Linked DNA regions of Homo sapiens: regions 1, 3 and 4 are each linked to region 2. Evidence: promoter capture Hi-C in 16 types of primary human blood cells and fetal thymus (Javierre and others, 2016). All regions are on one chromosome and are shown on one strand. Each heading gives the region's core, a stretch centred on a gene start or on the middle of the fragment in contact. The rest is flanking DNA. Distances are from core to core; before and after follow the strand shown. Region 1 overlaps CCP110 (centriolar coiled-coil protein 110). Region 2 holds the start of ITPRIPL2 (ITPRIP like 2). Region 3 overlaps LOC105371114 (a long non-coding RNA gene). Region 4 overlaps GDE1 (glycerophosphodiester phosphodiesterase 1).

The links. Contacts are between HindIII fragments. The CHiCAGO score rates a contact against its expected background, and 5 or more counts as called.
Region 1: a contact is called between a fragment that was not itself captured here and the fragment with the promoter of ITPRIPL2 in region 2, in 1 of 17 cell types (M0 macrophages). The highest score is 5.5, in M0 macrophages.
Region 3: a fragment that was not itself captured here is called in contact with the fragment with the promoter of ITPRIPL2 in region 2 in 5 of 17 cell types (M1 macrophages, endothelial precursors, monocytes and 2 more); the score reaches 7.9 in M1 macrophages.
Region 4: a contact is called between a fragment that was not itself captured here and the fragment with the promoter of ITPRIPL2 in region 2, in 3 of 17 cell types (monocytes, M1 macrophages and M0 macrophages). The highest score is 7.5, in monocytes.

Annotation. Positions count from the first base shown.
Region 1 is chr16:19,544,226-19,549,838 of GRCh38, forward strand. It overlaps CCP110 (centriolar coiled-coil protein 110), which reads left to right. Exons shown (of 14, transcript NM_001323572.2): 9 at 572-673; 10 at 869-985; 11 at 1,592-1,665; 12 at 2,187-2,249; 13 at 3,730-3,789. Among named protein-coding and RNA genes, the nearest start is that of VPS35L, 8.7 kb to the right of the region's middle. The HindIII fragment of the contact is 297 bases long and covers 1,202-1,498 here.
Region 2 is chr16:19,112,156-19,117,691 of GRCh38, forward strand. It overlaps ITPRIPL2 (ITPRIP like 2), which reads left to right and starts at 1,809. Exons shown (of 1, transcript NM_001034841.4): 1 at 1,809-5,536. The coding sequence starts at 2,307. The coding sequence ends at 3,914. RefSeq lists silencers at 1,811-1,910, 2,001-2,370. The HindIII fragment of the contact is 2,659 bases long and covers 1,384-4,042 here.
Region 3 is chr16:19,369,590-19,375,164 of GRCh38, forward strand. The region is part of intron 1 of LOC105371114 (a long non-coding RNA gene); the gene reads right to left. Among named protein-coding and RNA genes, the nearest start is that of LINC02858, 38 kb to the left of the region's middle. The HindIII fragment of the contact is 2,847 bases long and covers 115-2,961 here.
Region 4 is chr16:19,511,238-19,516,907 of GRCh38, forward strand. All of the region lies in intron 2 of GDE1 (glycerophosphodiester phosphodiesterase 1), which reads right to left. Among named protein-coding and RNA genes, the nearest start is that of GDE1, 8.0 kb to the right of the region's middle. The HindIII fragment of the contact is 4,135 bases long and covers 1,315-5,449 here.

The DNA.
Region 1 (5,613 bases), core at 100-2,599, 430 kb after region 2:
GGCTGGTCCCCCCAATAATCGTTAATCTTTCTCAGATAATATTATGAATAACATGTAAATGAAGCAGTTTGTGTGTTTTTGACTTGCTTGAAAGTGAGTGGTTTGACTTCTGATAAGTAATAGTTTTATTTATGTTCTTAGTACAGTCGGTCCTCTATCTCTGGGTTCCACATCTGTGGATTCAACGAACCATGGATCAAAAATAATTCAGAAAAAACAAATGATGGTTGTGTCTGTACTGAACATGTACAAATTTTTTTTCCTTGTCATTATTTCCTAAACAATATAACAACTATTTACATAGCATGTACATTTATTAGGTATTTTAACTAATCTAGAGATGATTTAAAGTATATGGGAGATGTGCTTAGGTTATATGCAGATAACTATTTTATATAAGGGACTCCAGCATCCTTGGATTTTGGTATCTGAGGGATTCATGGAACCAGTCCCCCACAGATACTGACGAAAGACTGTAATTTTGGATTGACTGAGAAAAAGAAAAAAGCAAACTCCAGTGATCACAAATCTTTCTAGAAAAATGTTTTTGAAGGAGCATTTCTTTTTTCAGGATACTATGGAATTCATAAGAAGTTTTCAGTCAGAAGCACCATTAAAGAGAGGCATTGTTTCAGCTCAAGATGCTTCACTTCAGGAAAGAGTGTTAGCTCAGGTAAATACATGGATCCTGAAGGCTTTTAAGACATGGACATATTATATTTCTCCTTTTTTATTTAATCACTGAAAATAGGTTTCAATGAAAACTATTTTAATCTTTTTCTATAAATAAGTGTACATGGTATATAGTATTCCTGAACTCTAACCTCATCTTTTAAATGTATACAATATTTTCTTCTCTTGTGCCTAGTTGCGAGCTGCCTTGTACGGTATTCATGACATATTCTTTGTAATGGATGCAGCTGAAAGAATGTCTATTCTACATCATGATCGAGAAGTTCGCAAAGAGAAAATGCTCAGGCAAATGGTATGTTATATGATTTCTAATGAATAGAGTTCTTCTGGGTTTAGGGTAATTGATACTAAATGTCAGTTTTGGTTGACTTCAGCACCCTTCTTCTGATAATTCTTAAGCACAAGTAATTCCTGGAATTACTAGCAGCATTTAAATCTGTAGACAGATTTAAAAGAATTACATCATTTAAGAATTACATATTGTTTTCTTATTGGATTTTAGAGTTGAAGCTTTGAATGTTTTGCTCAGATGGCTTATACAATCTATCAGCTGCTCCTGATTGAATTTCCTTGAATTCAATTATAATGTGGGTTTTGCTTTTTTTGAAATCTGAGTTAGAAAACAGGCTCCAAGTTAATTTGAAGTATATCAGAGTATGTGATTTGAATCAGTTATCTTAGTGTGATTGGCAAAGGAAAAGCAAGCAAAATTTACATAATTCTAATTATTTAATTCTTAGAATTAGACTGCTTCAAAAATACAAAACAAGATGATTTAACTAAATTAAAAATGTTAGTAGAGAGAAGCTTTTCCAGGCAATGTGGGATTATAATACATTATAATATAGTGGTATTAATTGGTTCCAGTAGAGTTTGACGTTACTTTTGTATATTAAAGGATAAAATGAAAAGTCCACGAGTGGCTCTTTCAGCTGCAACACAGAAGTCTCTTGATAGGAAGAAATACATGAAGTAAGTTTTTTGTATCATGTCATGTTAGTTATCAAACCAATTAATTTTAGTCATCTGTTGGTCTATTTGCATATTTAAATTTAGAAATAAAGAGTTAATTTTTCTGCAGTTGAGCTGATAGAAATCCCCTTTATATAAAGAAATTTATTAAAATCAGGTGCTAAAATCTCATTTCATCTTAGATGAATTTATTTACTAAATTTGACAACATTCAACTCATATAACTGATAGCTGGTTAATCTTAAAAACAGTTAATCTTTATATTCAGTGCCTAAATATATTCCTTTTCTGATGTCCTAAAGGTTTCTTGGGAATAAAGACTTAATGGGAAAAATATCTTAATAACTTTTTTAAAAAATTCTTCTTTCTTGAATGCAGTCTTTAATATGCTTAGTACAGGTCTTCCAGTAGTACACCAGCTTCTAAATGATGATTTGTTTCTGTCATCCTGTATTACATTTGTAAGCATGTTTTCTTCCCTTCTCTAAATACATTATGTCCTTATTTTTATATTGTGTTAGAGCTGCTGAAATGGGAATGCCAAATAAGAAATTTCTGGTTAAACAAAATCCTTCTGAAACAAGGTGAGAAAAATCACTTAGTCTTAATGAGAGGCTTTTTGTTTTTTATAGAAAAAAAAAATTGGCTGGGCACGGTGGCTCACGCCTGTAATCCCAGAACTTTGGGAGGCCAAGACGGATGGATCACCTGAGGTCGGGAGTTTGAGACCAGCCTGACCAACATGGAAAACCCCATCTCTACTAAAAATACAAAATTAGCTGGGTGTGGTGGCACATGCCTGTAATCCCAGCTACTCAAGAGGCTGAGGCAGGAGAATCGCTTGAACCCGGGAGGCAGAGGTTGCAGTGAGCCAAGATTGCTCCATTGCACTCCAGCCTGGGCAACAAGAGTGAAACTCTATCTCAAAAAAAAAAAAAAAAAAAGTTAAAAAATTAAAATTTAAATCCCAAACTTCATTTTTGTTGACTTTGTTCTACTTGACATCAGTAGAGCACTTCTTGCTGAATTGGGTCGGGGGTCGTCCTCAGGCTCAAGATTCATACCAATACCTGGCCATATACCTAGTCACATGTCAGACCAGATGTGCCCGGACCTTTTGTAGGACATGCTATCTGTGGTAGAAATTTTGAGCGTGGTATGTCTTGAGTTCAGTTAGACAGTCCAGAGGATCTTTGATACTTATTTAAAAACCTTAGAAAGCTAATTTAAGCTGGGCTGGGAGCAGTGGCTCATGCTTGTTATCCTAGCAGTCTGGGAGGGTGAGGTGGGTGGATCACGAGGTCAGGAGTTCAAGACCAGCCTGGCCAAGATGGTGAAATCCTGTCTCTATTAAAAATACAAAAATAAAAGATACAAAAAGCCGGGTATGATGGCGCGTGCCTGCTCAGCTACTCAGGAGGCTGAGGCAGGAGAATTGTTTGAACCTGGGAGGCGGAGGTTGCAGTGAGCCGAGACTGCACCACTGTACTCCATCCTGGGCGACAGAGCAAGGGTCCGTCTCAAAAAAAAGCTAACTTAAGCTGGGCACAGTGGCATGCTCCTATGGTCCCAGGTACTCGGGAGGCTGAGGCAGGAGGATAGCTTAAGCCCAGAAATTCAAACCAGTATGGGTAACATAGTAAGACCCATCTCAAAAAAATAAATAAATAAAAAATAAAGCTAAAAAGCGAACTTTAATATTTCTGACCTGTTTTTTACTCCTGTAAAATGAGAGTGATACTTTCTTCTCTCACTGGTTTGAAGGGAAAAGTTAGCTTTTGTAAAGCATATGTATAAGAAAATTATCTAAAAGCACAAGGGTTAGTCTATATGTTGGACATTTCTTTGCTGATAAAAACCTAAGGTTTGGACTCTTAGTGAGCAAAATACAAGTATCATATTAATATGCTTTAGTCGATTTGCTCTGATTTGTGGTAATATATAGGCCATATTATTGCATAGTTGACCTTTACCTTACAGTCATCATCTTTCATCCGTTGAAAGAAAATGGGAAAAAATGGAATTTAACCTATTAAATTAATTTTTCATTTAATTTGTCAACAGAGTCCTTCAGCCAAACCAAGGACAGAATGCACCTGTTCATAGGCTACTTAGTAGACAAGGGTAAGAATGCCACACACGGGTATTGAAAACTACGGAAACCAAGATTAGATTTGAGAGGGAAAAATAAATCTAGTGTTCTTTATGTAAAGGATAATGGTTTTTCAATGGGATTTTTTTTCTTTATAGCATTGGGAAAGATATTTTAAAGTTTTGTCTTCAAATGTAACCCTCTTGGTGTACTGTTGTGTATTCTAATTACTGTCTTAAGTTGGGATGTTTTTACTTTTCATTTCATACCATTTTACTCATAAAGTATTTTAAATATCCATATAGTAAATTCAGCATCACCGAAGTGATTCTCCAACAGAGTATGACTCGTGCTTATAGTCTCCTGCTGAAGCCAGAGTTTAGCTTTCCTTACTGTGCGCATGCATGAGACTTCAGTTCTTTTCAAGCTTATTTGTGCTTTGGACAGTTGATGCAATGTGATTGCTTTCTTTGAATTTTGAACATTTAGACCTTAATGCCAGTGACTTATTAATTTTTTTATATTCAATTAGAACCCCTAAGACATCAGTGAAGGGGGTTGTGCAAAATAGACAGAAGCCTTCACAGAGCAGAGTGCCTAACAGAGTGCCTGTTTCAGGTTTGTAGAAAATAAATTCCTGAAGCCCATTCAATAGAAGGAAGTGCACAAGCTGCCCCATAACTCAGGCCATAGAAGTGGAATAGATTGTCTTTCCTTGCCACCATAATTTTGGCATATTCACAGTCATCTTATTAGTGTTCTTTGGTCTTAGCATTGTATGGCAGTCAGGAAGTCTTAGTAAAAGTGTGATTCCAGTCTTCATTTCTATAATATTTCTGTGGAAAGCACCTTGTATTTTTCATTCTGAAAAAATTGTAGAATTTGCCATGCTTAATTCAGAAAACCTTTTTATTTAATGAATAAAAGATAACGATCATCTCTGGTGCTAAGTCTGTGCATTGTCTGTTCAGCTTGGGGAAGTGTATCTGCACATAAGGGGATAAACTTTCTCCCTCAGACTATAAGATCACATGTGAATATGCCAGTGGGAGGAGGGCTTCATATTTTGCTCAGTCCAAAGCTTGAGCTAAATCTCTCCTTATGTTCATTATTTGAGGATTAAGAGCTAAACTAAAAACTGTATTTTAAAATTCTGTTTATGGTGGCAAGAAGACAAACTCATTCTTGAGCAAATTCAAAGCTCTTAACCAAATGCTTTAATATTTTTTAGGTATCTTTGTTAAGACACTTTGATTAAGCTCACTTAAAAATTATGTGATCCATTTAAAAATACTTTCCAAATGTTGTGCTTTAACTATACTGCTTTCTAGACATTTACAACAAACCTAAATTAATCACCAGGCATTGAAGATTAAACCTTTAATCAATTTTAATCTTTCCATTAATATACAATTAGGCAAATTTTAGAGCTTTATTACTAAGTGATTTCCTTCAAATTAGGAGGGAACAAGCTATTGGTCGTAACTTTGAAATGATGGCTGACCTTTTGTATGTATGTAGTGAAGGTAATTCATAGTGTCACACATATATAGGATAATTTAAAAGATCATCTTTGGAAATCATTGTGAGTGACAGTTAATGGAATTGTCTTAAAGGATTACATAGCTGAAGATACTGTTTACTCCAGAGGCAGTCAGAATAAGCTAGTTTGAAAGATAACCATTTGAAAGGACTCAGACCAAACACCAAACCTGTGGAATTTTAAGACATTTTCTGTTTTTCTCATGTTAGTATTCTATATTGCACTGAAACTTAGCAAGTTGGAAAATCATTGAGGAATTAGTATTGTTTTGCCTGATACCAATTTGCCACAGTGACTACTCTCCATGTTCTTT
Region 2 (5,536 bases), core at 559-3,058:
GCTAAGAAGTGAAGGGAGAACAGGTCTGCATAGCATTGAGGCACCTAGATTCAGCTGTACCTGAAATCCCCTCATGGATCTCAGTTAACATGATACAATAATGTGTGTGTGTGTGTGTGTCTATGCGTGCGTGCACTTAAGCCAGTTGGAGCTGTGTTTCTGTCACTTGCAAACCTAAGAATCTTGACTGGTAGATGATGATCTCATAGCTAATATTAGTAGATGGGATCTGAAGGCAGATCTGCTTAGCTCTCAGGGGCCCAATTTAGGATTTACTGGGAACAACCCAGAAGCCATCTTTTGAGTCCTGGTTCCCAGGTGGCAGCTGGGTTCTAACATGTTTTAATATATTCACCCTTGCTCTCTTTAAAGGTCAGTGCCAGCAAAGAAGGTGTAATGAGTGTGAATAAAGAAAGACAATTATTTAAATAGATCAGATTATTTCAGGAAGTGCTCCCTGTTATGAAACAAAACAAGCTTCCTAGGACTGAGGTTCCAATGTAGACCCAGACAAAGGACCCCCAAAATTCCCAGCAGATGAGGAAGAGACCTTCCCTGGGCCCCCTCCTGGGAGTTCCACCCCTTGGTTTCTGCCCAGCTCTACAAAGGCTGTGTAACCTTGTGGGGGAGGGGGGAAGGGGGGCAGCTGAACCTGCCTGAGCTGAACCTGTTTGTGCCCCTTTCCTCCACTGGGAAAATAATTTTATTTTAATTTCATTTCATTTTATTTATTTTATTTTTTCAGAGACAAGAGTCTTGCTCTGTCACTCAGGCTGGAGTGCAATGATGCTATCATAGCTCACTGCAGCCTCGAATTCCTGGCCTCACTCAAGCGATCTTCTCGCCGCCTCGGCTTCCCAAAGTGCTGGGATTACAGGGGTGAACCAGCATGTTCCGATGAAGTCTCAGGCCAAATGTCACCCCTGTCATCCTCTGGTTTCCACAGGGTAGCCAGCACCTTCTCACTCCCTCGGGCACTTTTGTTTATTTTAGAGCGTTTTCTTGCTGTGGAATCCTTCCCCCCACTTTTTTTTTTTTTTTTTTTTTTTTTGAGACGGAGTCTCACTCTGTCACCCAGGCTGGAGTACAGTGGCGCGATCTCGGCTCACGGCAGCCTCCGCCTCCCGGATTCAAGCGATTCTCCTGCCTGAACCTCCCGAACAGCTGGGATTACAGGCGCGTGCCACTACGCCTGGCTAATTTTTGTATTTTTAGTAGAGATGGGGGGCGGGGGGGGGGGTCTCACCATGTTGGCCAGGCTAGTCTCGAACTACTGACCTTAAATGATCCGCCCACTTCGGCCTCTCAAAGTGCTGGGATTACAGGCGTGAGACACTGCGCCCAGCCCCTTCCTTTTTTGATTCCCATTTTTACAAGGCTGTAAGCTTCACGAAGGACAGAAACCTTGTCCATCTTGTCAACTATGATTTCCCCAGCACTGTGGCTCCGACCTGGCACATGGTAGGTGCTCGGTGAATACTGGTTTGAACAGACGACTGCGGCAGACGGCAAGGGCCACTCCTGTGCCAGGGCCTGCCACGCCACCGCAGCTTGTGCGGTGGGGGTGGGGAGGACTGGACAGTCTGGCTGTGCGCCCTTTTCTCCTTTTCAACGTCCCAGTATAACTTCAAGGGAGCGCAACTCCAGAGGCTCCCTGGACGAAGCTACCGCCCCGGAATCAGGGCCTTCCCAATTCTGCCTTCGGGGAGGGAGGATGGGGGTGGGCCGCGGGAGGCCAGTTCCAAGAGCGTCCTGAAGTCCCTCCCGCCGCCCCGCGTCGCTTTAAGGCGGAGGCCCGGGAGGGGGCCGACCCGGCTCGCCAGCTCCACGCTCGGCTCCAGACTCCGGCATTTCCTCCCCGCTAGCTGGCGCGGCCTCGCCTCCCCCTCGGAAGAGGAAACTCCCGGGGTCCGAGTAACAGGGTCAGGCGCGGAGAGGAGCGGCGGGAGAGCCAGGAGGGCCGCCCAGGGTAGGAGGCGAGCCAGGCCGGGCCAGAAGCTGGCCGACGGCGGCGCGCGGGGGCGCCGGGCGGGGAGGGCCGCTGGGCCGGACTCAGCGCGCAGCCGGGGCAGGGCGCGGCCCGGGGCCCGAGAGCGCAGGGCGGGCCGCAGCTGGAAGGAACACTTGAGCTGGGAGAGGAGGCCGAGCTGGAGGGCGGCCTCCCTCGGGCCTGCGTTCGGGAAGCCGCCGCGGAGGAGGAGACGGGGACAGCGGGGCTGCCCGGGCGCTGTGCGCATGCTGGGCTTGGGTCGCCGCCGGGGCTTGCCCCCTGGGCTGCTCGGCCACCGCCGCCCCGGGCGCCCGGCATGTCGGTGCACTACACCCTCAATCTACGCGTCTTCTGGCCCCTGGTGACCGGCCTGTGCACCGCCCTGGTGTGCCTCTACCATGTCCTGCGGGGAAGCGGGGGCGCCCGGGCCGAGCCCGCCGACGGCGTGGATGGCGGCTTCCCGTTGCTTAAGGTGGCCGTCCTGCTCCTCCTCAGCTATGTCCTCCTGCGCTGTCGCCACGCTGTCCGGCAGCGCTTCCTGCCCGGGTCTCCCCGTCTGGAGGGTCACGCCGCCTTCTCCTCGAGACACTTCCGAGAGCCGGGCCTCAGCATCCTGCTGGAGAGTTACTACGAGCATGAGGTGCGCCTGTCTCCGCACGTGTTGGGCCACAGCAAGGCGCACGTGAGCCGGATCGTGGGCGAGCTGGTGCGGGCTGGCCGCGCCCGGGGGTCCCCCGGTCTCATTCCTGGGGGAGCGCTGGCCTTGGCCTTCCGCGGAGACTTCATCCAGGTGGGCAGCGCCTACGAGCAACATAAAATCCGCCGGCCCGACAGCTTCGACGTGCTGGTGCCACTGCGCCTCCCGCCGCTTGTGGCGCTGGAGCCACGGAGCCTGGGCGAGGAGCCAGCGCTGGCCCCGGCCTTCCGCGGCTGCTTCTTGTGCGCCCTCAAGGCACCACCCTCACCATCGGGGGCCTCGGGGGGCCACTGGCTTCGGGACTGCAAACCCTTTGCTGATGCCTTCTGCGTGGATGTGCGCGGGCGGCGTCACCTCTCTGCTACTCTGGTGCTGCGCTGGTTCCAGTCGCATCTGCAGCGCTCCTTGGCCACTGTGCGTTACAGCCTGGAGGGGCGCTGTCGGGTCACCTTGACCCCAGGTGGCCTGGAACAGCCCCCCACCTTACACATCTTGCCCTGCCGCACTGACTACGGCTGCTGCCGCCTTTCTATGGCTGTGCGTCTCATCCCCGCTGTCCATCTGGGAGATGGGGTCTTCCTTGTGGCGCCACCACCGCCACCCTTGCCCAGCGCGCCCCTGTTGGAGCTCCCTGAGGGCCTGCGTGCGGAGGCACTGTGGGGTGTGAACACAGCACGCCAGGAGCAGAAGCTGCTGAGTTGGCTGCAGGAACGGGCAGCTCCAGGTGCCTGCTACCTCAAGTGCCTGCAGTTGCTTAAGGCTCTGCGCGATCTGGGGGCCCGTGGGCTGGACTCAGCGGCCGCCACCCAGTGGGGACGCATCCTATCCTCATATGTGCTCAAGACAGTGCTGCTGGCAGTGCTGCTGCGCAAGGGGGCCCCTGGGCAAGGCTGGGACGAGGAGCACCTGGGAAGGTGTTTGGAGGAGTTGGTGCAGTTCCTTAGGGACTGCCTGCTGCGACGCCATACGCTCTTCCACTGCGTCCTGGGCCCTGGTGGGGCGGCTGCCGAGGTGGGTCCCCTGCCCAAGGCACTGAGGGAAGCCGCCCCAGTTGACCTCCTGGCCGCTTTCGACGGGCACGCCCGGGAACTTGCAGCAGCGCGGTTGCTGTCCACGTGGCAAAGGCTGCCCCAGCTTCTCCGGGCCTACGGGGGTCCCCGCTACCTTGCCAGGTGCCCCCCACCCCGGAGTCAGCGCACCCAGGGCTTCCTTGAAGGTGAACCGTAAACCCTGACAGCACCCCCACCTGACCAAATGCTCCTAAAGCCTTTCCCACTGGGTGGGGGTGGGAATGGCGGTGAAGCCAGTTAAATGCAAGATTGCAGAAGGCATTGGAAAATTTGGTGGCTGCCACAAGCTTTAGTGGCTTAAATATCACCTTCTCGCTTCACAGTCCAGTATAATATGACATCTTCACACCCACTAGAGTGTCCTGGGCAAACCATGGGAAGACATCCAACAGGAGACCCAAGAATTGGTTCAAATATTGTTCTGTGTAGACGGATTCTGTAGAAGGATGTGGCTTTTAGAGAAGTCCAGTAGAAGAAGCAAGAACTAGCTGCAGGGAAAGTTCCTTCTGTCGGTTTTTAGACACAGATCTCTCTGCCCAAATTAAAAAAAAACAAAACAAAACACTAAAGTTTTTGACACAATTACTTGCTAGGTACTGGGTTCCTGATTGTCTTTAAAAAGAAAAATCTGAATCTTTATTTGCAACTGGAATTGAAGTTCTATTTTAGGGGCTAATGTTTAGAGGAACATAATTTCCACTGTTCAAATTAATATTAATGTATTTTTAAAATGGTGCAATCACAGGTGTTTGACAAGATTGTCAACAAGTTAAGTCACATAGATGGAAAGGCAATCGAGAGTTGGTTAGAGAAGCTTCCAGAGAAAATAGCACTTTATATTGATCAATTCACTCATTTTGTGGTAATTGCTAGCACCAAGCATTGCATCTGAAAGGGAAGCCAGTTATATTTATTATTAAATGTACAACCTTGAAAAGCAGCCAGCATGCTTGCCTAACTAACATCGCCGCAGGCCACAAGCTGGGATATGTACCTGTCCGTCAACATCCATTCATTAAACTACCTACTACCAGCCAGAGATGTCTGGAACCAAAGTAGCAACCAAATACATATTCAAGACAACACTGGTGAAGGCATAAAACATGTTGGCTTTGGAGAAAGATGTGTTTTAGGCTTTGCCTGTAAAGGTGTTTCTCCAAGGCTGGCTGCTGGCTGGAGACAGAAAACTTTTTTGTTTTAAGGTTTTTAGCAAACTCCTTCACAAAGAGATTTCTTTCTGAGCTTAATGAGCTAATGAAGAGGAAATGCCTGCTGCTTAGCATGTGGTTTGTGCTGGGTCTCTAACCATTGATGGTTCTTCCTTGTCCAGGCAGTCTTACGTGGTCCAAGAGACCTGTTGATTCAGCACAGGTCTTGCAAAACATTTCACTTATAGTTCAGTATCTTGGGCTCTGTGCTTGAAGATCAGTTACTCCCTGGTCGTGGGCAGAGGAGACAAATTAGGAAAAGAGCAAGGGAGACAGCCCTTGACGGCAGTCTGTCTCTTTTCTCTTTAGGTGTCAGTATCACCAGGTTGGGTGTATTTTGCAGCTGGGAGGAGCCGGTCCTGGAATTCTTCCTTGTTCTCCCAAATTTATAACAGTCCTCAATTGCAGTTTAAGTTCAGCATGGCCCCTCATCTGCTTGCCTGATTGGAAATGCAGCCAGTCCAAGTGTTACAAATTGGGATTTTTTTGTTTTCTAAATAAAAACATGTACTTCCTCAGACTCTTAAAGCTAAAATTTGGAAGACAGAAATGCCTATGTGAATAGAATCAT
Region 3 (5,575 bases), core at 288-2,787, 260 kb after region 2:
CAAGCTCGGTTTAAATAAATGATTTCATAAACAAATAAGGAAAACTAGCTCATGGTTCTGCAGGCTGTACAGGAAGCATGGCACTGGCATCTGCTCCTGGTGAGAGCCTCGGGAAGCTTCCAATCATGGCAGAAGGCGAATCACCCATGTGGAAGAATATTCCAAATAATTCATGCAGACACTTTGTCCTCAAGAGTTGGGGGAACATAATGCCTCATTCCTTAAGTGTAGGCAGCACACGGTGTCTTCCTTCCAAAGAGTGCATGCAGTATGGAAAGGGGTGGAGGCAGAGTGAGCGTACAGTGGAGAAACCTGGTAAGCCCAGCCTCAGCCAGGTGATGAAGGTCCACATTAACAGTGACCCGTCACGTTGATGGTAGGCACCCTCGACATGCGATGAGAGAGGCACTTTACCTCTGAGGTCTTCCTCCCAAAACCCCATAACCTCTGCCTAATGATAATAAAGACATAAGACAAAACCAAATTCAGGAACATTCTACAAAATAACCGTCCAGCACTCCTCAAAACTGTCAAAAAGGCCAAGAACAAGGGAAGTCTGAGCGACTGTCACCATGAAGAGGAGCCTAAGGAGATATTAGGACTAAGTACAATGTCATGTTTCTGGATGGGATCCAGGATCAGAAAAAGGACATTACAGAAAACTGAGGACTTAATGCCATTTCTGGTTTTGAGACAAAGTATAACCCATGAATAAAACAGAGAGAAACTAGTGTTGTGTGATTCAGTTGGGGTGCTGCCATCTGCAAGTATTAATAAGAGAAACTCCAGCCAAAAATGGCCTAAGTGTAAGAATCCAGAGCCAGCTGCAGTGGTGCGCACCTGAAATCCCAGCTACTCAGGAGACTGAGTCAGGAGGATTGGATCATTTGAGCCCAGGAGTTTGAGACCAGCCAGGGGAATGTAGTGAGACCCTGTCTCAAAAAAGAAAAGGAAAGGTTGTGGGCTCAGTGGCTCACGCCTGTAATAATCCTAGCACTTTGGGAGGTCTGAACTCCCAGCCAACATGGTAAAACCTCGTCTCTATGAAAAATACAAAAAAATTAGCCAGGTGTGGTGGTGCATACCTGTAATCCCAGCTACTTGGAAAGCTGAGGCAGGAGAATCACTTGAATCCAGGAGGCGGAGGTTGCAGTGAGCCAAGATTACATCACCACACTCCAGCCTCGGCAACAGAGTGAGACTCCATCTCAAGAAAAAAAAAAAAGAAGAAGAAGAGAAGAAAAAGAAAAGGAAAGGAAAGGTCTGGCTCAGTGGCTCATGCCTGTAATCCCAGCACTTTGGGAAGCTGAGGCGGGTGGATTGCTTGAACTCTGGAGCTCGAGACCAGCCTGGGCAACATGGCAAGACCCCATCTCTACAAAAAAATACAAAAATTAGCCAGGTGTGCTGGCACATGCCTGTGGTCCCAGCTACTTGAGAGTCTGAGGTGGGAGGATTGCTTCAGCCCAGGAGTTCAAGGCTGCAGTGAGCTGAGATCACACCACTGCACTCCAGCCTGGGTGACAGAGTGAGACCTTGTCTAAAATTTAGAAAAAAAAAAAAAAAAAAAAAAAAAAAAGAATTCAGGCAGCAGAGAGAATCCAGGGCCAATTGGTTGAGTGGCTTAACCAAGTCAAGCCCTTCCATCTTCATACTTGGCCATTTTTGGGGTCTCCTCCTCTGATTGACCTGATATGGGCACTTCCAAACACTGTGGTCAGGCAGGGATGGAGAGCAGGAGCTGTTTCTTCTTTGTGTGTCTCTTTTTTAAGACTAAAAAAACATTTCCAGAAGCTGCCCAGTAGACTCTGCCTCATTGACCAGAACCTAACACCCCTTGCTAAGCCCAGGCACCACCATAACAGGCTGAGACCAATCAGAATTTGCCCTGCAGTCACACAGGGAGGGCTGGACACAGGGTAAAAATCAGGATTCAGGCTGCAATAAGGGCAGCTGGCTGCTTCAGCACAGTCTTGTGAATACAAGAGAAAATGAAAAGAACAACTCCTTTCATGTGTAATTAGAAAACTAAGGTGAAGCCGGGTGCAGTGGCTCACATCTGTAATCCCAACGCTTTGGGAGGCCAAGGCAGGAGGATCCCTACAGCTCAGGAGTTCAAGACCAGCCTGGGCAACATAGTGAGACCCCATCACTATTTCTAAAACAAGTAAAAATAATTCTAAAAAGGAAAACCAAGTTGAAACTATGTTCCTGTCACCAAAACACACCACTTTCCCCAAAGCCAGATTTTCTCACTAGGTTGGGTTATATGAGGTCCTACCCAAATGCAAAGAGAGAAAAAAATTACCATTTCAAGACCCTTCTAGTCTGAAGACACTAAGTTTCTATCTAGGACGTCAAATTGCTTTGTGCCCTTCAACATATAACCACTTTCTCTTTGAGTTACAATGTATTTGACTGTAAATAAATATGGAAATATGTTTAATTCTGCAATTTTTTATTTTTTTAGAGACAGAATCTTGCTCTGTTGCCCAGGCTGGAGTGCAGTGGCATGATCTCGGCTTACCGAAGCCTCAACCTCCTGGGCTCAAGCAATCCTGCTACCTCAGCCTCACGGCTAGCTAGGACTATAGGCATGCATTACTATGCCCAGCTAACTTTTGTTGTAGTTGTTGTAGAGACAGCTATGTTGCTCAAGCTGGCCTCAAACTTCTGGCTTCAAGTGATCCTCTGGCCTTAGCCTCCCAAAGTGCTGGGAATCGCAGTCATGAGCCATCATCCCTAGCTATCTCCAATTTCTTGAAATTACTGCTTACTGAGTTTTTTTAATATACAAGTGCAACCTTCTAATAACATTTTGTCATCGATATTATTATATTTATTAAAGAGACAGCATAGCTAATTGATTAAGGATGAGACTGTATGAATATAAATCCCAAGTTTACAACAAATCTATTAATAGTAGCAGTGTGACATTAAAGAGATTTATTAACCACTCTAAGCTTCAGTTTCCTTGGTGTATTAGTCTGTTTTCATGGTGCAAATAAAGACATACCTGAGACTGGGTAATTTATACAGGAAAAAGGGTTTAATGAACTTACAGTTCCACGCAGCTGGGGAGGCCTCACCATCATGGTGTGACGCAAGGAGGAACAAGTCACGTCTTACATGGATGGCAGCAGGCAAAAAGAGAGAGCTTGTGCAGGGAAACTGCCGTTTAAAACCATTAGATCTTGTGAGACTTATTCACTATGGTGAGAACAGCATGGGAAAGACTCGCCCCCCGTGATTCAATTACCTCCCACCAGGTTCTTCCCACGACATGTGGGAATTGTGAGAGTTACAATTCAAAATGAGATTTGGGTGGGGACACAGCCAAACCATATTACTTGGTTACAAAATAATAACATTTACTTCTAGGAGAATTATATAAGATGAGGCCTGTGACGTGCTTAAAATGTGTCTGGCACATAATAAATACTCAATAAATGTGAGTCCTTATACACATATGAAAGTCAATATTCGCATCTTTTGCCAGATTGAATCCTCTCTCCTGTCATCATGTGGAGCTGAATGAAAATGATCAGGTGAGGGTGGGAGGAGGTGTGGTAGAACTACACATCCCAAAGATGGACACGTTCTAATTCTCCCAAATTTCTAAGAATATGTTACCTTACATGGCAAAAGAGACTTTGCCCATTTGATTAAGTTATGGATCTCAGGCCAGGTGCAATGCTCACACCTGTAATACCAGCATTTTGGGAGGCCGAGGTGGGCAGATCACTTGAGGCCAGGAGTTCAAGACCAGCCTGGCCAACATGGTGAAACCCTATCTCTACTAAAAATACAAAAACTAGCTGGGTGTCGTGGTGGGTGCCTGTAATCCCAGCTTCTCAGGAGCTGAGGCACAAGAATTGCTTGAACCAGGGAAGCAGAGGTTGCAGAGAGCTGAGATCGTGCCACTGCACTCCAGCCTGGGCAACAGAGCGAGACCCTGTCTCAAAAAAAATTATGGATCTCAAAGTGGGAGATTATCCTAGATTACCCAATTGGACCAAATCTAATAACACAAGTCCTTATCAATAGAAAGGAGAGGCAGAAAAGTGGGTCAGAGAAATGCTATAAGCAAAAGACGCCTCCAGTCACTGCTGGCTCAGAATATGGAGGAGGGGAACACAGTATGTGGAAGTTTCTAGAAGATGACAACAGCCCTTGGCTGATGGCCGGACGGAAAACCAGGGCTCCATCCCTATAGCTGCAAAGGGCAGAATTCTGCCCACAACTCAAATAAGCAGGAAAGGGAATCTCCCTTGTAACATCCAGAAAGAAATGCAACCCTTTGCACACCTTGATTCTAGTCCAGTGAGACAAATTTTGCACTTCTGACCTATAGATATATAAGATAATACATTTGTGAGGTTTTTTTATTCTGGTAAAAAAAAATACCATCTTAACTCTTTTTAAGTGTACAGAACAGTTGTGTTAACTATAGGCACATTGTTCTGCAATGAGCCTCTAGAAGTTTTTCATCTTGCAAAAACGAGACTATATCCACAACAATGCCCTGTTTTCCTCTCCTTCACGCCTCCTGATAATCATTGTTTTACTTTCTGTTTATAAGAGTTTGACAGCCAGGCATGGTGGCTCATGTTTGTAATCCCAATGCTTTGGGAGGCCAAGAGAAGAGCATCACTTGAGCCCAGGAATTTGATACCAGCCTGGGCAACATAGTGAGCTCCCATCTCTACAAAAATTAAAAAATTAGCTGGGTGCAGTGCTGTGTGCCTGTAGTCCCAACTACTCTGGAGGCTGAGGCAGAAGGATCACTTGAGCCCACTGAGCCCAGGAGTGAGCTATGACGACACCACTGCACTCCAGCCTGGCAACAGCGTGAGACCCTATCTAAAAAAAAAAAAAAAAAAAAGGTTGATTAATTTGGATACCTCATATAAATGGAGTCATGCAGTATTTGTCCTTCTGTGACTGGTTTATTTCATTTAGCATATTTCCTCAAAGTTCATCCATGTTGCAGCATATGATAAGATTTCCTTTTTTAAGGCTGAATAATATTCCATTATGTGTATATACCACATTTTGTTTATCCACTCATCCGCTGATAGATATTTAGGTGCTTCTACTTCTGGTTATTGTGAATAATGCTGCAATGAACATGGGAGTACAGATATCTGCACAGATGCTTTTTCAAATATTTTAGGTATATACCCAGAAGGAGGATTGCTGGGGCATATGGTAATTTTTTGAAGACCCTCTGTACTGTTTTCCAGAGTGGCTACATCATAAATTTATGTTGTTTGCAGCCACTAAATTTGTGACAATTTGTTGTGGTAGTGATAGGAAACTAATATTGGGTCTTTATTGATTTTGCTTCTTTTTATTAACGTTTTCTTTTTTTTGAGACAGAGTCTTGCTCTGTTGCCCAGTCTGGAGTGCAGTGGCACAATCACGGCTCACTGCAGCCTCAAACTCCTGGGCTCAAGCAATTCTCGCAGCTCAGCCACCTGAGTAGCTGGGCCTACAGGTGCATGCTACCATGCCCAGCTAACTTTTTCTTTCTTTTTTTTTTTTTTTTGTAGAAACAGGGTCTCACTTTGTT
Region 4 (5,670 bases), core at 2,132-4,631, 400 kb after region 2:
GACTACAGGCGTGTGACACCACGCCTGGCTAATTTTTTGTGTTTTTAGTAGAGGCGGGGTTTCACCATGGTGGCCAGGCTGGTCTTGAACTCCTGACCTCAAGTGATCTACCTGCCTTGGCCTCCCAAAGTGCTAGGATTACAGGTGTGAGCCACTGCGCCTGTCCTACTGTAATAATTTGAACCAAATTATAGATATTCTTTTTTCCACATTTTTATTGCTATACACTTAGACATATTTTTGTGATATGCGCATAATGTATAATGATAAAATCAGGGTATTTAGGATGTCCATCACCCCAAATATTTATCATTTCTTTGTGTTAGGAACATCTAAATCTCCTAGCTATTTTGAAATATACAACAGATTGTTAACTATAATCACTTTACTATGTTATTGAACACTAGAATTTATACCTTCTATCGAACTGTATGTTTGTACTCATTAACCAAATTCTCCTTATTCTCCTCTTCCCCCAACCCCAAACCCTTCCCAGCCTCTGGTAACTATCATTCTCCTCTCTACCTCCATGAGATCAACTTTTTTAGCTCCCATATATGAGTGACAACATGTAATATTTGCCTTTCTGTGCCTGGCTTATCTTATTTCATTTAACATAATACCTTCAGTTCCATCCATGTTGCTGTAAATGACAGGATATCATCCTTTTTTATGGCTAACTACATAGTATTCCATTGAGTATATTTACCACAGTTTATCCATTCATCCACTGATGAACACTTAGGTTGATTCTGTATCTTGGCTATTGTGAATAGTGTTGCAATAAACATGGGGGTGCAAGTATGCCTTTGATACACTAGTTTCCTTTCTTTTGGATAGATACCAACTAGTGGGATTACTGGATTGTATGGTAGTTCTATATTTTTAGTTTTTTGAGAAACCTCCATACTGTTTTCCATAATGGCTGTACTAATTTACATTCCCACCAACAGAATATAAGAGTTCCTTTTGCTCTGTATCCTCGCCAGCATCTGTTATTTTAAAAATCTTTTAAATAATGGCCATTCTAACTAGATAAGATGGTACTTCATTGTGGTTTTGATTTGCATTTCCCTAATAATTTGTGGTGTTTTTTCATATGCCTGTTGGCCATTTGTGTGTCCTCTTTTGAAAAATGTTTATTCAAATTAGGATTTGAATAGATGTTTTTAATGGGATTATTATTGTTTTTGCTGTTAAGTTCCTTGTATATTCTGGATATTAGTTACTTGTCTGTTGAATAGTTTGCAAATATTTTCTCCTATTCAACAGGTTTTCTTTTTACTCTGTTGATTATTTCCTTTGCTGTGCAGAAGCTTTTTAGTTTAATATAGTCACATTTGCCTGTTTTTGTTGCCTGTGCTTTTGAGGTCTTAGCCATAAAATCTTTGCCTAGATCAATGTCCCAGAGCTTTTCCCCTGTGTTTTCTTCTAGTAGTTTTATAGTTTCTGGTCTTAAATTTAAACTTTTAATCCATTTTGTGTTGATTTTTTAAATATAGTGAGAGATAGGGGTCTAGTTTCATTATCCTGCATATGGATATCCAGTTTACCCAGTACCAGTTATTGAAGAGAGTTCCTTTCCCCCACTGTAATGTTCTTGGTGCCTTCATGGAAAATCAGTTGGCTGTAAATATATGGATTTATTTCTTGGTTCTCTATTGTATTCCACTGGTCTATGTATCTGTTTTGTGTGTGTGTGTGTGTGTGTGTGTGTGTGTGTGTGTGTGTCAGTATTTATACCAATACCATGCTGTTTTGGTTACTGTGGCTTTGTAGTATATCTTGAAATGAGGTAGTGTGATATGTCCAGCTTTGTCCTTTTTGTTCAGTATTGCTTTAGCTATTTGGGCTTCTTTACGGTTCCATATGAATTTTAGGATTGTTGCTTTTCTATTTCTCTGAAGAATGTCTTTGATATTTTGATAGGGATTGCACTGAATTGTAAATTATTTTGAGTAGAATGGTCACTTTAGGAATATTAATTCTTCTGATCCATGAGCATGGGATGTCTTTCCATTTGTGTCCTCTTAAGTTTTCTCATCAGTGTTTTGTAGTTTTCCTTGTAAGAGCTCTTTCACCTCTTTGGTTATATTTATTCCTAGGTATTTTGTTATTTTTTTTTTGGTAGCTATGTAAATGGGATTACTTTCTTGATTTCTTTTACAGCTAGTTCATTATTTACGTATAGACATGCTACTGATTTTTGTACGTTGATTTTATATCCTGCAATTTTACTAAATTTGTTTATCAGTTTTAACAGTTTTTTGGTGAAGTCTTTAGGTTTTTCTACATACAAAATCATGTTGTCAGCAAAGAGGTACAATCTGACTTCCTCTTTTTCCAATTTGGATGCCTTTTATTTCTTTCTCTTTCCTGATTGCTCTGGCTAGTCAATCATTCCATATTTAGCAAAATTGATATGAAGGTCGAAAGAATCATGGAGGAAGTAATTAACCATATTATCCAGAGTTTGCTGTACTTGGAACTGATAAAACTGAAAGTATCCAGTAAGTACAGACTAAATGTAATCATAAACTTCCCTTTTATTGCATAAGACTTTCAAACATGCTGTGGTTGCTTTTAAACACAAGTAGGTTGGGCTGTAATTGTGTAAGAAGCAACAAGTAAATGGTTTGCACAAGCACTTTTAGAAAGGTTAAGACAACTGGACCACATGGTGGTGCCCAAGACATTTTTAATTCATATCCTGGTGACAAGTGAGCATTGAAAACCCAAGACTCGTAGATGAGAAGAATTGAAGCACACAGACACCTGAGCACAGAGATTAGAGATTGATGGTCTTTGGTTTCTTATATTGTATAATGGATGTTATTTTTCTGTTTTTTGTTTTGTTTTGTTTTGATTTGTTTTCCTTTTCTGGTAATTCTGTGCTTCTGACACTAGCTATAAATTGGGGTTCCCACCTCCTCCTCCTTGGGTTCAATTAATTTGTTAGAGTGGCTTGCGGAACTCAAACACGTTTACAGGTTTATTATAAAGTATGTTACACAGCATACAGATGAAGACATGCATAGGGTGAGGTATGGGGAAAGGGGCATAGAGCTTCCATGCCCTTTCTGAGTGCTCCATCATTCAGGAACCTCCATGTGTTCAAATACAGATATTCTTGACCAAAGACCAGCAACAACAACAAAAATCATTTAATTTTTAAGAAATCACTGAATTTCTATTGAATTAATAACATTATTAATAACCCTACTTCCCAAAGGGCAGAGTATATGCCACCTTTGGAAAACTCAAAGACTTAATTTTCAGATTGTAATTTCCCTAATAGAATGCTATGCAGGAGGAATTCTTAGGAATACATAAATCTGTTAACTGTATTGTGTATTTATTTAAGTGCAACTGTTTAAAATAAATAATGTTCTAAGACATAATTTTCTGATAAAGAAAATGAAAACTAAGTGCTTGATACAAAAGAAATTAGCTTTTCTCTCATAATAAAATTATTATTTAACTTAATGCTAATTCAACTGCATTATTTCAACTGTAAGATCATGCTTTTAAAAAAGGGTAAGGATAGGCCAGGTACAGTGGGCTCATGCCTGTAAATTCAGCACTTTGGGAAGCTGAGGCAGGCAGATCACCTGAGGTCAGGAGTTCGAGACCAGCCTGGCCAACATGGCGAAACCCCGTTTCTACTAAAAATGCAAAAATTAGCTGGGTGTGGTGGCATGTGCCTGTAATCCCAGCATTCTGGAGGCTGAGGCAGGAGAATCACTTGAACCCGGGAGGTGGAGGTTGCAGTGAGCCAAGATCATGCCATTGCACTCCAAACTGGGCAACAAGAGTGAAACTCCAACTCAAAAAAAAAAAAAAAAAAGATAAGGATAATTTAAACATTACAGGCAATTATCCCAGCCATTCTAATCAATTTCTATTCCCTGAGAGTGAAAGATGGGAGACCTGAATTTGTTATTCCTTTGGCTGATCTTAGTTTCCTCCTTATCCTCCTCTCAGGACAAGCATCTCATCACACTGAGCATAATTCTAGAGAAAATATCTATTTTTTCCCACAACATAATCCGTAAACACAAGCCAATTACTTCATTTAGTTTTCAATCATAGAACACACTCTGTTCCAATAGTGGAGCAAAGACTGGTTGTGTTAAAGACACTGAGATAATATGTTGCCTTTGCTGTCTTCTTAAGGGATTTTTTGAAAATCACAATTTTTTTTCCTAGGATGCACAAATTCCAGAGAAATGGACTCAGTGCTCCCTTAAAGGATTTTTAAGGGTAATGATGACCCTAAACATTTTTGCTTTAAGTATTAACTTTGAACCTGACATTTTATTAGCTGCAATGTCATTATAATATTCAAACCAGCCTTTCCCTTGCATAAGCAGAGCAATACAGTATCTGATGACACTCAAGAACAATTCTAGCAACTTGGACTCATAATTCTCAAGTGTTACCAATATTCTTTCCTGCCTACAGTATGACTTCCTTCGGCAGACTAATGTTTTTCAGATCCTAGGAAAACAGGTCTGGATCATCTTTTAGGAAAAAGTATAACTTAACTGTTGGGTCAAATACTTAATTTTCCAAGAGAATCGATCATTGTCTGGATAATTGATATTACATGAATAACCAGTGAGCACACCCTTTTCAGTACTGCAAAGATGACAAGCAGAGAGGGATTTAAATAACCACATTCCAAAGTACAGTATATTACTCAGCATACCAATTCCAAGGGTGTTTACCGCTGTAAGTGGGGAAGAGGATGTAGGTTCTGTGATCATGTAAGTTTGAGAAAAGCTAAGTTACAAGTAAGAATCAGCTGATGTGGACTGTTTATCCACAACAGAAGTATTCAGAATACACTGTTTGATCTTACTTGAACCCTGTTTTTGCAGAACATCTTGTAAGATTAGCTCTAGTGTATATACTTTGGAAGCTACGTTTACACTCTACCAGGAAGGAATTAAATTAGACACTGAAAGAACTTTTGCTCTTACAGGGTTGAAAGACATTGGGGGCAGCTAAAAACAGCATGATTTGGACTAAAACTTGGGATAGATTCTAGTTTTGGCTTCTTTATGAACTAGTTATTTGCCCTTGAGTAAATAATTTAACTTTTCTGGGATTATATCTAAAGGCAAGATTGATCTAGATCTGTAGTATCCTATATGGTAGCCACACATGGCTATTTCAGTTTAAATTTACATTTAAATTAAAAATTCACTTCCTCGTGTCACTAGCCACATATCAAGTGCTCAATAGCCACAAGTACCTACCATATTACACAGTGCAGATATAAAATATTTCCATCATTGCAGAAAGTTCTACTGCAAAGTGCTATTCTAGATGATTTCTAGGATACTCTCTATTCCTACAATTCTGTGATTCCTCAGAAGTTTGTTATGAGGATCAGAAGAATTAAATGGGTTAAGTTAAAATGTGATATTATAATGTTACTTGAAGCTTTTAATGAATGTATAATTTGCTTCTTGGTACACCTGAAGGCAAGAAGATTGCCAAGCAATGACTTTCAGCCTCATGATTCTATGACTAGACAGTATTATCTTGACAATAATTCTGAAGCCAAATTTAGCCTCAGTGGGAAAGATTAAAAACATAATGCCAAATTTCTGTTGTTCCTGGCACTTGCTCATTACTTACAAGACCTACGTACAGTTCAAA